2 separate regions of the Homo sapiens genome follow, and region 1 is linked to region 2. The links are contacts of gene promoters, found by promoter capture Hi-C in human tissues and cell types (Jung and others, 2019). All regions are on one chromosome and are shown on one strand. Each heading gives the region's core, a stretch centred on a gene start or on the middle of the fragment in contact. The rest is flanking DNA. Distances are from core to core; before and after follow the strand shown.

Evidence for each region. Contacts are between HindIII fragments. The study calls those that stand out against the background at their distance.
Region 1: a contact is called between a fragment that was not itself captured here and the fragment with the promoter of ZNF587 in region 2, in 1 of the 25 tissues and cell types used here (hippocampus).

The regions. Positions count from the first base shown.
Region 1 is chr19:57,174,733-57,180,621 of GRCh38, reverse strand. LOC124904780 (a long non-coding RNA gene) reads right to left here. Exons shown (of 2, transcript XR_007067355.1): 2 at 1,691-2,125. It also overlaps the pseudogene LOC100132009. Among named protein-coding and RNA genes, the nearest start is that of DUXA, 10 kb to the right of the region's middle. The HindIII fragment of the contact is 5,158 bases long and covers 1,554-5,889 here.
Region 2 is chr19:57,847,437-57,852,691 of GRCh38, reverse strand. ZNF587 (zinc finger protein 587) reads right to left here and starts at 2,833. Exons shown (of 3, transcript NM_032828.4): 1 at 2,621-2,833. The coding sequence starts at 2,653. LOC124904782 (a long non-coding RNA gene) reads left to right here. Exons shown (of 2, transcript XR_007067358.1): 2 at 2,131-2,377. RefSeq lists enhancers at 1,192-2,391, 2,446-2,535, 2,586-2,825, 2,996-3,055, 3,126-3,235. The HindIII fragment of the contact is 32,917 bases long and covers 1-5,255 here.

The DNA.
Region 1 (5,889 bases), core at 2,883-5,382, 670 kb after region 2:
CATTAGAAACAAATTTCTTTTTCTTTTTTTTTTTTTTTTGAGATGGAGTCTCACTCTGTCCCCCAGGCTGGAGTGCAGTGGCGCGATCTCGGCTCACTGCAAGCTCCGCCTCCTGGGTTCACGCCATTGTCCTGCCTCAGCCTCCCGAGTAGCTGGGACTACAGGCGCCCGCCACCATGCCCAGCTAATTTTTTTTTTTTTTTTAATATTTTTAGTAGAGACCAGGTTTCACTGTGTTAGCCAGGATGGTCTCGATCTCCTGACCTCGTGATCCACGTGCCTCAGCCTCCCAAAGTGCTGGGATTACAGGCATGAGCCACCGCGCCCAGCCAACACATTTATTTTTCTAAACCCATTACTCTCATCTGTCAGATTACTTTTATCGTGTCAGCCCTCCAAACCCATCCAAACTACAGCCAGGACATATCTAAATGTAATGGTTCTACTTTTCTAGTTTCAGTTCTTTCTTACATAGACAAAGACACATGCACAGAGCAACATTGGTATTAGAGGAGCATGGCATCTATATTAGTCTGTTTTCATGCTGCTATGAAGACCTACTCGAGACTGGGTAATTTATAAAGAAAAGAGGTTTGACTCACAGTTCTGCATGGCAAGGGAAGCCTGGGGAAACTTACAATCATGGCGGAAGGTAAAACAGGCACATCTTACATGGTAGCAGGTAAGAAAAGTGAGAGCCAAGTGAAGGGGGAAGCCCCTTATGAAACCATCAGATCTCATGAGAACTCACCATCGTCAGAACAGTACGGGGGAAACCATCCCCATGATTCAATTATCTCCTCCTGGCCCTGCCCTTGCCACATGGGGATTATTACAATTCAAGGTGAGATTTCGGTGGGGACACAGAGCCAAACCATATCACCATCCTTTTTCCAGCATCTGGTTTAATGTGGTGTTTTGACTGGTAGGCCTTCATTTTACTCAATAAGCATTTGGGGATGCAGAGTTTTCCCTGATCACCAAACTTGGCTTTTGTTTGCCCTTTGACTAAGTCTGATGTACTGTTTCTTACACTGTTACTTTGCTACTAATAATGGATATTATGCTATTGTATAAGTCTCCCTTTACAGCTTCATTAAAAAAATTAAAATTGCAGCCGGGCACGGTGGCTCACGCCTGTAATCCCAGCACTTTGGGAGGCCGAGGCGGGCGGATCACGAGGTCAGGAGATCGAGACCACCCTGGCTAACACAGTGAAACCCCGTCTCTACTAAAAATACAAAAAATTAGCCGTGCATGGTGGCGGGCGCCTGTAGTCCCAGCTACTCGGGAGGCTGAGGCAGGAGAATGGCCTGAACCCGGAAGTCGGAGCTTGCAGTGAACCGAGATCACACCACTGCACTCCAGCCTGGGGGACAGAGCGAGACTCTGTCTCAGAAAAAAAAGAAAAAGAAAAAAGAAAAAAAAAGAAAAAGAAAAAATTAAAATTGCATAGAAGTACGCATATACACACAAACGAGAGATGTAGAGAACCGGTTAACTCTAAATAAGGCCTACAGATTGTAGCAATGTCAATTTCCTGGTTTTAACATTGTACTATATAAATATGTCATCATTTGAATAAGCTGGATGAAGAATACACAGAACTCTGCACTATTTTTTATAATTTCTGCAACTCTATAATTATTTTTAAAATCTAAAAATGCAAATTAAAAAGGCACTATTTTAATTTCCAAATATTTATAAGTGTTCCCACTCTTTTTTCTACATTTATTACAACATTTATTTACAGTCATTTTATCAGTTGTGCAGCCTAAACCAACAATATCCTGTTTAGTCATTCCTAAGATGCACTATTTCTGACATGGAAATATCCTGAAATTGGGAAACTATTGACCCAACACCACCTGTGATAAAACTGCATGAACACCTTTCTAAGATGAAGGACCAGCATCACAGCAGCACATCAGGCCAACAAAGGCAGAAGCCCAGCAGCAGGGAGAGGGCAATCGCATGAGGACCCAGCAGCAGGGAGAGGGCAGTCACACGAGGACGGCAGCAGGGAGAGGGCAGTCACACGAGGACGGCAGCACGAGGTCAGCGCACCAACATTGTAGGTTGCAGGCTTATCCTGATGACAAGAGCGATGGACCTCACCATGTGTCTGTAAACGGCAATTTTTGTTTTTTGTTTGTTTGTTTGTTTTTGAGACGGAGTCTCGCTCTGTTGTCCAGGCTGGAGTGCCGTGGCACAAACTCGGCTCACTGCAAGCTCCGCCTCCCAGGTTCACGCCATTCTCCTGCCTCGGCCTCCCAAGTAGCTGAGACTACAAGCACCCGCCACCACGCCCGGCTAATTTTTTTTGTATTTTTTAGTAGAGTTGGGGTTTCACCGTGTTAGCCAGGACGGTCTTGATCTCCTGCCCTCATGGTCCGCCTGCCTCGGCCTCCCAAAATGCTGGGATTACAGGCGTGAGCCACTGCGCCTGGCCTGAAAACGGCCATGTTGCTACTTAAATGCTAAACCTTTAATGGTGTATTAATAGACAGTTATTAAGTTGCAAATTAGGAGCTTAAATCTACATAAATCAGCTGTGTACTGACTGTATCTCACAGTAACAAATTCACCCAATCTGTATCTTGTCTTCTTTGTAACAGTGTTAAATATTAGCATATCTCGCTCTCAGGTGTGATTCCAGCAGCTGCGCTGAGGCCATTGCTGCTCCCGAATCTCCACTTTCATTTGCCTTCACTGGTGTCACTGTCGCTGTCACTGCTGCTGTCAGTATCACTGTTACTGGTCAATGCAGTGAAGTTGCCTAGGGCTTCCTTTTGTTCCTGGTTGATTGCAAAGTCAGTCATTACTCTCTGGGTGAGGCCCTCACAAATAGGTAAGCTGAGCCACCTCTACTACCTCAGTGGCCTGGGAGGGGCTGTTAGACACTCTTGCACTGTCCATAAACTCATTCAGCAACTCATTTCTAGGGATCTTATTATGCTTCCTAAAAAGCCCCAACATTTTCCAGGCTTCCTGGATTCTCCCAGCCATTAAAAAGAGGACAGCTGGCTGAGCGCAGTGGCTCATGTAGGTAATCCCAGCACTTTGGGAGGCTGAGGCAGGTGGATCACCTGGGGTCAGGAGCTTGAGACAGCCTGGCCAACATGGTGAAACCCTGTTTCTACTAAAAAGACAAAAATTAGCCAGCATAGTGGTGGACGCCTGTAATCCCAGCTACTCAGGAGGCTGAGGCAGGAGAATCACTTAAACCTCGGAGGCAGAGGTTGCAGTGAGCCGAGACCATGCCATTGCACGCCAGCCTGGGCCACAAGAGCGAAACTCCGTCCCAAAAAAAAAAAAAAAAAAAAAAAAAGACAGCTCTACAGTTGAGACAGATAGCTGGCCAATTCAGAGCAGTGTGTCTGACAGGCTGGCTTTCATACGTAGATTTGATATCAGCAGCACAGTCAGCAAATGCTACCTGAAGCTCTGGTGGGTGCTTATCCATTGCCATGAGTGTCAGGATCTCTTCTCTCAGGTTGTTGCAGAAAGTGTGACTATATTCTTTACTATCTTTCCAAATTTGAGTAATCACTTCCAGCCAGTTGGCCACATCCAATGCTCGGAGATCTATCAACATTTGGGAGTGGGGAAAGAAGGCTGAAGGTATCAGGTCCTCATACCACTTCAAGGTGACATCAATTCGTTCCATTAGACAAATCAAATTGAAGAACATGGAATAATAGGAATTATGCCGTTTATCAGGTCCAATGAATTTTCAGTTGTCTCTGGTATTTAAAAGGCCATGTAGCCGGGTGCAGTGGCTCACGCCTGTAATCCCAGTACTTTGGGAGGCCGAGACGGGCGGATCATGAGGTCAGGAGATCGAGACCATCCTGGCTAACACTGTGAAACCCCATCTCTACTAAACATACAAAAAAAATTAGCCAGGCGTGGTGGTGGGCACCTGTAGTCCCAGCTACTCGGGAGGCTGAAGCAGGAGAATGGCGTGAACCCGGGAGGCAGAGCTTGCAGTGAGGCGAGATTGCACCACTGCACTCCAGCGTGTGTGACAGAGCGAGACTCTCTCTCTCAAAAAAAAAAAAAAAAAAAAAAAAAAAAGCCATGTATTTGGTACGCAAGTTCTAGATTTCTGAGAGATGAAGATACTCTCATGGCTGACTGAAAAAGCTTATCATCATCCAGGTCCTTTGGGGGAAAATCTCTTTCCCATTAATTCATTCATTATATCATAGATGATGAAAGATGATCCCTTTGAAGGGTTTCCAGGCTGATAAAACAGCTGAATAATATGGTGATATGTTGCAAGCGAGGGTTCTAGTCTGATGGCTTTCATTTCACATAGAATCTGTAAGGCTGGCAATCTTGCAAGTACATAAAATCTTCGGAGACATTTCAGAATGGTATTAAAAGTCTGTAGATTTGGTTTCACCTTCTGTGCAACCATTTGTCTTAGCAGCTCCAGTATATTATTCCATTCTTCCTCAAATTTCTCATTTATCACCAATACTGTTGCTTCAATCACTGCATTAAATGTGTATACATCAGCACAGAGTCTGTTGTTTAGTAACTCAGTGTACAGGTTTAATGCCTGCTCATAAGCTTGATGCTTCACCATTCCTCGGATCACTGTGCAATAGGAATGTGCATTTTTCCCTGGCATTAGAGAAAACATTCTCTCAGCGTTGTTTTGTGCTCACCAGGTAACTCCAAATTGATCACCAGCTTTCCTCCTAGACCTCTTATTATTTTCCTCTTCCAATTCTTCTGACTGTTCAATTTGTTGAAACTGATAATCAGTTGAGGGCTCCTGGTCACCATAGTAACACAATAAATCCAAGAGACTATATGTTGTTACAAGAGACACAGTGGTTCCTGCTTGCAAAAGCTCATCAAACATGTCCACAGAGACTTTGACTTTTCTGAGCTTGATTCATTCCTTGAGAGTGGCTTCACTTATGTCTTTGATCTGAGGTTCAAAGTACTCAGGCATTAAACACAGTGTATGAGGTTCAGCTATGTCTTTCTGAAAATATTTGGAGTATGAATTAATAATGAACTTGGCCGTATTCTCCCCGGATTTCTTTGCCAGTAAAAATGAACGAGATTCTGAAGAGGATGTTGGTATGAGGTAAGGATTATCTTGAAACACGCAAGGTACAGCCGTGGGAACCCTGTTTACTGTGGATGCAAGAGCCTGAAGAACGGCTACTTTATCCCAAGTTTTCTTTTTTGGAATTACTACTTCTTCAATCCCTGTTATATCAGTTCCTTCAATATTTGAGAGGGTTGCACTTCCAGAATAAAATCTCAGCTGTGTGCTTGTTCACATAGACCTGCTGGCTGACCCGTCAGTGGCTGGTCAAGCCTGCTGCAGAGCCCCAGCCAGCGAACAGCAGCTACAGCCGCCATCTTTGACTTCTCTGCCAAGTGCTCCCACTCTTACACAATCATTCAACATCCCATTTCTGACACCACATCTAAAGCAAAAAAACTAACTGTTCTTTTCTTTCAACTCACTCAAAACAGAACATTTGTGTGACCAAATGAGTGGAGGTTTTTTCATCCATCCCAGTTTTCCAGGAGACACCAGTAGGTGTCCTATAATTCAAATCTGACACTATCTACTTGAAGGAAGTGTCACATCCCATAGGTTGAGGACTAAGTCCCACAGAATTGCCCTTCACTTCAGATGCCAGTCACAATCACCTGGTTGTGGCCTGTGCTTTTGACCAACTACATTAGAATTGGGGTTCCCACAACCCCCTAGAACTCATTTCTAGAATGGCTCATAGAACTCGGGGAAACACTTTGCTTATGTTTACTGTTTTATAATAAAAGATATCACAAAGGATACAAACAAACAGTCAGAAAAGATACACAGGGCAAGGTATGTGAGAAGAGGTGTGG
Region 2 (5,255 bases), core at 1,584-4,083:
GCTGGGCATGATGGTGGGTGCCTGTAATGCCAGCTACCTTGAATGCTGAGGCAGGAGAATTGCTTGAACCTGGGAGGCAGAGGCTCCAGTGAGCCCAAGATTGCGCCATTGCACTCCAGCCTGGGCAACAAGACTGAAATTCCACGTTAAGAAAAAAAAAAGAAAACCTAGCTGTCTCTTTACAAAAAGTGAATCCTGAATCCAGACCCATGTGATTTACCACTTATCTGATCCATTAACCCTCACCTGGATTATGGCAGGAGCCTTATCTCTGACCTTTCTTCCTCTTCCCTCAACCCACAGTCTATGCAACAAGGTCCAGCCAGATGAAGCCTGTAGCCAGGTAGAACTGTGGTAATATCACCTCCTGACTTTGATCCGTTTTATCTCTAAGCATTTCACAACCTGGTAGCAAATCCTGGGTTAATCTTACAAGGGTGTTTACATTGGTTGACAGAAATGGGAATACCTCCATATAACCTGTCATGGACTTGGTATCCTGGCTTCAGAGATTCTCCAGGGTCCTCGGATCAAAGGACTGAAAAAAATGGCACTTAAGAGTCCCAGGACACCACAAGCTAGAGAACCTGTAGATGGCGTCAGGACCAATGAGGGAATGGAACACCCTCCACTTCCCTGTGTGGGTTCCCTAAGTGCTTCTGCAGCCAGGAGTGCCTGAGGGGAAAGGCAGACATTACAAACATGTCACAGGATTTGATAAGCTCAGGACTCCCTGAACCCTTTCTTGTCCCTGGAACCAGGTAACCCTAAGGCTGGTTGTCTGACCTGCTTTTCTCAGTGCAAAATGTCATCTCTACCATCTATGTGATCTACAAAACGGATTCAACCTCCCAAGGCCCCAAAGTCCTCATCCTCTCTCTCTATGATGTTCTTCCTTTGATTGGCCTTTGGGAAACTTCTTAAAAGCCTGGATTTGGATCATGTCCCTCCTTTCTTCAAAACTCTCCATGGCTTCTAGAATCCTCATGATGAATGCACAGCCCCTGGCCTGCTTGCTCTACCAGGAAGAGCTCCATCTCACACGTTGTTCCTGACAGATGCCTGTGAACCCCAGGTTCCATCCTTCCAGCTCTGTCCATCTGCAGGCCATTGCCTGCACCCCTACCTGTGCCTGTCACTCTCCCCACTGCATCCCACTGGTGTCAGAAACAGGTGAAACCGACTTTGCAAAATTATAACTGACGAAATTATGACAGTGAAAGAAATCAGACCTAACCGACTCCATCTTGCTTCCAACCTTTCAGCCGTCTTTTTTCATTCCTGGGCATAGGCTGAATTAACTTTGGAAAAGAATTCAGTTCATGGTTTCACTCTGAAACAAAATTGATAATAGCCCTTTCCTGAAAAGACCCCTTTCTTGCCTGGGGACCAGCCTGTCTTTGCAGGACTAACAAATTAGCTACAAGAATAGAAATTACGGTTTAGGGGTCATGCAGCTTCTGGCTCCAAGAGTCTGAACCTCCCCAAGTTGCTCCTGAAGATAACCTTACTATTGTAAAACCTAATGTGAGTTTCTGGGGTGCTAGTTGAGTTGGTCTCCCCTGTGTGAGACACCCATGGGAAGCCATGGGCGGCCTCTGAGGAGAAAAGTCTCCTTATTGCCTTCATGTCTTTATGCCCCGAGAGCATAACTCTTCAGCAGCATTCCATGGGTTGCTCAGGGAGATCACACTCCCTTGAAGCAGTGGAGCATAATCAAACATCTTGGCTCCTCCTGAAACCCGCAGCCACCCGTTTCAGTTAAGTTAAAGATCTTAAGTAGTTTAGACACACGCCTTTGTTCAAGGAAATTCACAGAAACGGCCAGTGCTTTACATCTTATGGAATGACTCACGAGTTCTCCTTTACTGATTAATCCTTTTCCTGATCGCTTCCTCCCCCTCCAATCAGCCATAAGAACAAAGAGCTTGTAAACCAATAAACTGGGTGGAGCCCAAGAGCTCTGGGCCGCCAGGAAGCCTCCAATGCTCTGGCCACCTGGACCCGCCTTTTAAATGCGTATTCTGTCTCTTTCTAACTCCTTTGTCTCCGCAGGACTCGGGGTATCTGCTGGGTGGTGTGGGGCTGGTTTCCCCAATATCTAAGATCAGTGCTTGGGGCATTTTGCAGATCCTGCACTGGATGGATCAGCGGACAACACACAGACCGGTAATCTGGGTCAATCAGTTCTGCCATCCCACCCAGAACAGAAAACAGCATGAAAAACTCACTTTAACCCCCTATGAATCCATCTCCAACCAGACTGATCAGCACTCCCCACTTCCCAAGCCCCTACCCGCCAAATTTTGAAAACTCTGATCCCAGAATGCTCAGGGAGACTGATTTGAATAATAAAACTCCTGTCTCCCGAACAGCAGGACGGCTCTGCGTGAATTACTATTTCTCCATCGCAATTCCCCAGTCTTCATAAATCGGCTCTGTCTAGGCAGCTGGCAACGTGAACCCACTGGACGGTTACAAGGAGAGGCCTCCTGTGAGCGCCTCAGTGTTCCTACGCCGGGTACCGGCTACAGACCCACGAGCAGGAGCCGCTCCCTCGCTGGTTTAGGACCTGGGTGACGATGGGGTGACCTGAGGGCACAGAAGGCACCACAATTACCTGAGTTGGGCGCCTCGGCACAGCCGCTGCCATCGGACTACTTGGGGAAGCACGGCCCGGGAGCAGTGGTCGCCGTCACGGGGCTGCAGAGCCGCCTCTGGGCACCGAGGACGATTCCTCTCCACCTTCTAGGTTCAGTCACCGCGGTCCCACCCAGCACTCAGGGGCCACAAACTGGGGAAACACCCGCATCGCCGATACACAGCCGCTACTAGAGACCCCGGAAGTCTCGGCCTTACGTTACGTGCACACGTGGAAATGCCTTCTTTCCGAGTGCTCACTGGCTCTGACCGGCTGTCGTTTAAAGCAGAGCTTTCTGGGTAATGTAGTTCCCCACTTTCCATGACACAACATGGTTACCAGGTTCTGAAATGTTCATGGCTCAGATGCACCTCCAAGCCTTTGTACCTATTGGTTCCTCTACCTGTATTACTCTAGCTGGGGTGAAGCCTGTAATACACAGCATTTACCTGAGCTAGGTCCCTCAGTGTGGCTGCTGCCATCAACTGTGGGTGGAGCAGGCATCACCCCAGCCAGTGCCTATGAGCCTCAGACCTGCCACTTGGGAGCAGAGATGACTACTCCTCTTGTGCCTTCTCAGTCCCAACCCAGTACTCCCTGGCCTGACAAGCATGCCCAGAAATCCCTCATCCTGGGCCTTGCAACTAGCGCCTTCTGGGTAAAGTACTTCCCAGAGCTCTCAGCCAACAATGGTGGTATCCTCCAAGAGCAAACCGAATGCAGACCATGTTACATTCTGAGGGCTGCTGGAAAGCCCTGCTCACACCTCAAAGGAGGAAGATTATTGATTCTTTGTAAAAGCATCAAATAGGTATCACATCAGACTCTAGGAAGCTCATCCTGCACCCAGAGAATAAAAATACTATTTGAGATGCTCCCAAACTTTACTTATCTAAGTGGCCATATCATTGGCATCATTCAGACTTACAATGTGTGCACTCAGAGCTGAGAACATTAAGTATTGATTGCTCTTTAAATTCACGTAGACTGAATCATTACAGTCAGTTTTGCGAGTTTCATTGTTTTGTTGGGAACAAAAGAAAATTCTCCATAAGACATGATGACAGGATGGGTACAAAAAACAGTGAGCAAAAATGAATAAGACCTAATATTTGCTACCATAACAGGGTGGCTATAGTCAAAATAATTTAATTATATATTTAAAAATAACTAAAAGAGTATAACTGGACTGTTTATAATACAGAGGATAAATGTTGAGGTGACTGAGACCCCATTTACCCTATGTGATTATCACATATGGCATGGCTACATCAAAATATCTAATGTAATCTACAAATATATACACTACTATATACCCACAAAAAATAAAAATAAAGGCCAGACATGGTGGCTCACACCTGTAATCCCAGCACTTTGGGAGGCCAAGGCAGGTGGATCACCTGAGGTCGGGAGTTCGAGACCAGCCTGGCCAACATGGAGAAACCGTGTCTCTACTGAAAGTACAAAATTTTCCAGGCATGGTGCTGCATGCCTCCAATTCCAGCTACTCGGGAGGCTGAGGTAGGAGAATTACTTGAACCCTGGAGGTGGAGGTTGCGATGAGTCGAGATCATGCCATTGCACTCCAGCCTGGGCAACAGGAGTGAGACTCTGTCTCAAAAAAAATAAAAAATAAAAAATAAATAAATTGCTGGGTGCAGTGGCTCATGCCTATAATCCCAACACTTTGGGAGGCTGAGTCAGGTGGATCATGAGGTCAGGAGTTCGAGACCAGCCTGACCAATATGGTGAAACCCCATCTCTAATAAAAATAAAAAAATTAGCCGGGCACGGTTGCTCACGCCTGTAATCCCAGCACTTTGGGAGGCCGAGGTGGACAGATCATGAAGTCAGGAGATCAAGACCATCCTGGCTAACACAGCAAAACCCATGTTAAAAAAATTGCTGGGCATGGTGGCAGACACCTGTAGTCCCAGCTACTCGGGAGGCTGAGGCAGGAGAATCGCCTGAACTCTGGAGGCAGAGGTTGCAATGAGCTGAGATCGCATGACTGCACTCCAGCCTGGCGACAGAGCTAGACTCCGTCTCAAAAAAATAAAATAATAATAAAGATCTAATGACAGGGAAATAGACGGATGTTGGTACACCCTGAAGCAGGTAGTGAAGCTGGCAGTTGGCCACTGGTTCCCACAGAAAATTGCTCTAGTGATGCTAGCAAATCCCAAAATTGGGGCTCAATCCAGGAGGGTTCCTGGCTTCATAAAGGAAATAATTCAAGAGCAAGCCAAGAGTGTAAAGTGAAGGCAAAGCAAGTTTATGAGAGCAAGAGAACAGGAAAATGGCTGCTCCACAGACAGAGCAGGGCTACTCCACAGGCAAAGTAGCACCCGTGGATTGTTGGCTAGCTATATTTATAGCTACTCCTTAATTATGTGCTAAATAAGAGGTGGGTTATTCATGAATTTTCTAGAAAAAGAGTGGGGAGTTCCCAGAACCAGGGGTTCCTTCTCTTTTAAACTACATGAGGTAGCTTCTGGGCATTGCCATAGCATTTGTAAACGGCCATGGTGCTGGTGGGAGTGTCTTTTAGCATGCTAATACATTATAATGAGCATATAATGAGCAGTGAGGCAATGAGGGTAACTAGAGTTCA